2 separate regions of the Homo sapiens genome follow, and region 1 is linked to region 2. The links are contacts of gene promoters, found by promoter capture Hi-C in blood cells and fetal thymus (Javierre and others, 2016). All regions are on one chromosome and are shown on one strand. Each heading gives the region's core, a stretch centred on a gene start or on the middle of the fragment in contact. The rest is flanking DNA. Distances are from core to core; before and after follow the strand shown.

What was found. The method cuts DNA at HindIII sites, captures the fragments that hold promoters and counts their contacts. A CHiCAGO score of 5 or more calls a contact.
Region 1: a fragment that was not itself captured here is called in contact with the fragment with the promoter of SYT10 in region 2 in 1 of 17 cell types (neutrophils); the score reaches 5.6 in neutrophils.

The regions. Positions count from the first base shown.
Region 1 is chr12:33,616,690-33,619,407 of GRCh38, forward strand. No RefSeq gene overlaps it. Among named protein-coding and RNA genes, the nearest start is that of SYT10, 180 kb to the left of the region's middle. The HindIII fragment of the contact is 8,094 bases long and covers 1-2,718 here.
Region 2 is chr12:33,438,395-33,441,094 of GRCh38, forward strand. SYT10 (synaptotagmin 10) reads right to left here and starts at 1,425. Exons shown (of 7, transcript NM_198992.4): 1 at 978-1,425. The coding sequence starts at 1,128. RefSeq lists an enhancer at 336-1,152. The HindIII fragment of the contact is 7,804 bases long and covers 1-2,700 here.

The DNA.
Region 1 (2,718 bases), core at 34-2,533, 180 kb after region 2:
TACAACTGTCTTTATGATAGAATCTTATTTTTAAAGAGATAAAAATCTGGTTCTCCATATATTTCCCACTGCTGTTTTCTGCATTTTAAACATTAATTATATTTTTCTATGGATAATTATGTTTCCAATAAAAATATTAACGTCTTAAAAGAAAGGTACATATTAATGACTTACTGGTAAAAAGCTACCATGGGGAAAATAAGTTATTTTCATCCATGACCTCAATTACCATGTATACACTGATGATTTTCTAACCAGAATGTTGAGCTTAATCTTCTCTTCTGAAATTTCATGCACACTCCTTCACTTCCAACTGCCACCCAATTTCCTCTAGGTGTCTCATACCTGAACTGAATTTATCACTTGTTTCTTAAGTTATACTTCCTGCAACTTGAATGAATATTCCTTCATTAATAAAGCTAAACTACACTGGAGATAGAAAGAAAATTCAAAAGCTCTTATAGAATCATTTCCACCCAGAGTTACACCCTGCCTCAACTGGACTTAACTAGTACTGATATGGTTTGGCTATGTTCCCACCCAAATCTCGTCTTGAATTGTAACTCACATAATCCCCACGTCATTGGAGGGACCTGGTGGGAGGTAATTGAATCATGGGGGCAGGTTTTGCCTGTGCTGTTCTTGTGATAGTGAATAAGTCTCACAAGATCTTATGGTTTTATAAAGGGCAGTTCCCCTGCTATGTTCTCTTGCTTGCTGCCATGTAATATGTGCCTTTGCTCCTCCTTTGCCTTCCTCCATGATTGTGACACCTCCCTAGCCATGTGGAACTGTGAGTACATTAAACCTCTTTTTCCTTTATAAATTACCCAGTCTTGGTGTGTTTTTATTAGCAGTGTGAGAATGGACTAATACAGTACACTGGTACCAGGTAGTGGGGCGCTGCTGTAAAGATACCCAAAAATGTGGAAGCAGCCTTGGAATTGGGTAACAGACAGAGCTTGGAACAGTTTGGAGTGCTCAGAAGAATACAGGAAAATGTGGGAAGGTTTGGAACTTCCTAGAGACTTGTTGACTGGCTTTGACCAATGTGCTGATAATGATATGGACAATAAAGTCCAGGCTGAGATGGTCTCAGATGGAGATGAGGAACTTATTGGAAACTGGAGCAAAGGTGATTCTTGCTATGCTTTAGCAAAAAGACTGGTGGCATTTTGCCCCTGCCCTAGAGATCTGTGAAACTTTGAACTTGAGGGGGATGATTTAGAGTATCTGGCTGAAGACATTTCTAAGCAACAAAGTGTTCAAGAGGTGACTTGGGTGCTCTTAAAAGCATTCAGTTTTATTCATTCACAAGGATATGGTTTGGAATTGGAACTTATGTTTTAAAGGGAAGCAGAACATAAAAGTTCAGAAAATTTGCAGCCCTGATGATGTGCTAGGAAAGAAACACCCATTTTCTGAGGAGAAATTCAAGCAGGTTTCAGGAATTTGCATAAGTAATGAGGAGCCAAATGTTAATTGCCAAGATAATGGAGAAAATGTCTCCCAGGCATGTCAGAGGTCTTCACATCAGCTCGTCTCATCACAGGCTCAGAGGCCTAGGAGAGAAAAGGTTTCCTGTGCCATGCCCAGGGATTTGTTGCTTTGTGCAGTCTCAAAAGTTGGTGCCCTTGGCCGGGCGCGATGGCTCACGCCTGCAATCCCAACACTTTGGGAGGCCAAGGCAGGCGGATCACGATGTCAGGAGATGAAGACCATCCTGGCTAACACGGTGAAACCCCGTCTTTGCTAAAAGTACAAAAAAAAATAAAATTAGCTAGGCATGGTGGTGGGCGCCTGTAGTCCCAGCTACTCGGGAGGCTGAGGCAGGAGAATGGCATGAACCCGGGAAGTGGAGCTTGCAGTGAGCCGAGATCGCACCACTGCACTCCAGCCTGGAGTGAAACAGAGCAACAGAGCAACAGAGCAAGACTCCGTCTCAAAAAAAAAAAAAAAAAAAAAAAAAAAAAGTTGGTGCCCTGCATCTCAGCAGTGGCTGAAAGGGGTGGACGTAGCATTCAGGCCATTGCTTCAGAGGGTGAAAGCCCCAAGCCTTAGTGGCTTACACATGGTTTTGGGCATGTGGGTGCACAGAAGTAAAAAATTGAGGTTTGGGAACCTCCACCTAGATTTCAGAGGATGTAGGGAAACACATAGATGTCCAGGCAGAGTAGAGAACCTCTACTTAGGGTAATGCAGAAGGGAAATTTGGCGTGGATCCCCCACACAGAGTCCCACTGAGGCACTGCCTAGTGGAGCTGTGAGAAGAGGGCCACCATATTCTAGACTACAGAATGGTAGATCCACCCACAGCTTACACCATGTGTCTGGAAAAGCCACAGATACTCAATGCTAGCCCATGAAGCAGCTAGGATGGGGGCTGTATCCAGCAAAGCCATAGGGATGGAGGTGCCTAAGACCATGGGAATCCACCTCTTGCATCATGGTAAGCTAAATGTGAGACATGCAGTCAAAGGAGATCATTTTGGAGGTTTACAATTTGACTGCACCACTGGATTTCAGACTTGCATGGAGCCTGTATCCCCTTCATTTTGTTCAATTCCTCCCATTTGCAATGTGTGTATTTACCCAATGCCTTTACCTCCATTGTATCTAGGAAGTAACTAACTTGCCTTTAATTTTACAGGCTCATAGGTAGAAGGAACTTGCCTTGTCTCAGATGAGACTTTGGACTGTGGACTTTTGAGTTAATGC
Region 2 (2,700 bases), core at 175-2,674:
AAACCACGCAGCCCGCAACTCGGGGATCCACCTCGCGTGCGCCCGAGGAGCACAGCAGGCTGGACACACCAACCTTTTCCCCAACCGTGACCCAAACAGTGGCTTGGATTCGATCCTTTCCACCCCCAAGCCTTGAGGAAAATCCACTTGAGACTTTTTTCCATCTCCAGATTTCCGACGGTCGATATCCTCCTGCATCCAGCCCATTTCCTAGTTTCCTGAAGGGTAGGGAGGACGTCTGTGAGTTGGATGTCTGAGAGCGTGCGTGTGCTAGGGATTTTAAACGTCTCCCCTCTCTTCCACTTCTTCGATATGTGCTCTGAGCTTTAGGTGTCGCCTCACAAATGGGATCAATAATCCTTGTTTTACCAACTTTGTCATGAAACCCTAGAAAATCATATATATTAAAAGGGCTTTAGAAATTGTCAGGTGCCCGACAGGTTGCAGCCGCGGGTTACCTCGGAGGCCAAGGCAGCCACCTCTGCAAGGGAGTTCTGCGTCCAAGCATGGCTTGTCCGTCCCGCCTGGCCCCCATCAACAAGGCCGGGACCAGCGGCCGGTGGAACGAGCGAGAGCAGCCCTAGTCCCACAGGTGAGCCGCCCCCACAAGCAGCCAAGCCGCGAGCCGTCCCGGCGCCGTCACCGCCCGCACTCACTTCTCCACTCCGGGAGGGAGATGGGAGGCGTGGGAGAACGCGGAGAGGCGCGGCGAGGCTGGGAGCGGGAGACGGCGCCGGGAGGCGGGAAGCGGACCAGAGAATGGGAGAAGCCCGGCAGGTGGACAGGAGGAAACAAAACCCAAACGCCCCACCCTCGAAGTCGTCAGGAGCTGAGCGAAGGAAGGAGCGAGGTAGGAAAGCGTGGCGCCCCAAATATGCCGCGGGAGCGGCGCGGGAGGCGCAGAACCCCGGAGCTTGCAGCCTAGCGCGCGGGGTCCCAGCGGAGCGCGAGGACGCGAGCGGAGCCCTCCCGGTTACCTGTGCTGCTTCCGCCCTGGCTGCCCCTGTCCCGAGGGAAGATGCCCGAGCACTTCTCCCACTCCACCTGGCCGGCGAAGCACAGCTCGGTGACGATGTGCAGAGCCTTCTGGCACAGACTGTTCACTCCGTCCTCCTTGTGGAAACTCATCGTTTGGCTTTTCTTTCGTTTTCTCTTTTTTTCCCAGTTAGCCGTCTTTTCCTCTTCCCGTACCTCTAACCCCTCTGGCGCCCTAAGCCATAGTCCGCCCGCGGTGACTTTGGCTGGAGATTGCGCCGCTGAGAGCCGGCAACTCTTAGGAGCCCCACGTTGGCCCCATGGCGGGAGCGGAGGGCGTAGGGGAAGGAGAGGCGCGCGAGGAGGCTGCGGCTGCCGCGAGGTTTGCGCCAACTCTCCCGCCGCGCGAGCGAGCCGAGGCGCGCTGGAACTAGAGACCCGGCATGGAGTGCTGAGGGGAGGGGGGAGCCGTAAAAAAGCCAAAGCAAGCCCTCGACTCGCAAGCACGCCCCCCTCCTCTCCCCAGCGCACTGGTGTTTCTGGCGGGTGCCTGGCGGCGACGCGTCCAATCGCAGCCCGGCGCGGGCGCTAGGTGACAGGCGGCGGAGCGCGCAGACCCGGCTCCCCGCGTCCTCTGAAGAAGGGACTCGCGAGGGAGGGAGGGAGGGAGGGCGGGCGGCCCGGCGCCCCTGCCGAGGCCGGGGATGCTCATCGTTGCCCAGAGTTGGCCCGAGGAGCCCTCTCCGTTTTCCCAATACTTTTCCCTGCATCAGTGCAGCCATCCCCGCCGCCTTTGTCTCTCCAACTTTTCCACGGATGTATTCTACTTTCTGTGCTATCTGCTTCTGCCCTTCTGGAAAAGTCATCCCAATCGAAGAAAAACTGAAAAAGTTAATTAGAAAAAAGAATGCGTGAATAAGCAAACCCTCTTAGGTAGATCACAAAATAAAATGTTATTTGTACTAATAATCAGATAAGATTCTGTCGATTAATCCGTAATTGGCGATTGAGAATGCACAACTTGACTCCCTCCATCTCCTTTCTTAGCGACTTAAAACAAGACATGGGTGTTAAAGGGAACAGGATTAAGTTCAAATCTGTCACACATCTCAGCCTAACCTTGAAGTTGTTTTCAGGTCTTGGCGATCCTCCTACTTCAGCCTCCCTAGTAGCTAGGACTCCAGGGACTCCAGGCGCTATTTTTTTTTTTTAAACTTATTGTAAAGACAAGGATCTCACTATGGTGCCCTGGCTGGTCTCGAACTCCTGGGCTCAATCAATCCTACCGCCTTAGCTTCCCAAAATGCTGGCACTAGCCACCACGGCCGGCCTGCTTTCGGGTCTTTGCCTGAGTCTGTAAAATGGGAGATTTGGACTCGGATGTCTTAAGCTCACCTGTTTTTATAATTCTTTAATGCAAATGGGTGCAAATCAGTAGAACTAAAGCGACAAAATAATAAACATGGGCTTCAGGATATAATATGTTTATATGGTTTTTAAACTGTTTTCGGGCAGAGTTTGATCCCATATCATAACCTGAGGATTGATTTAACCCTCTTGTGATGAGGGATTCTTTATTTTTGAAGTGGGATACATTGAACTTGTTAGCGTGTCTATGCTAGTAGAATAAGTAGTCTTTTTTAAAAACAGCTAATCAGTTCATGGTAAATTATTTGCTTTGCACAGGACTATGGTAAACCTAGTATAAATATTAGGCATAGCACT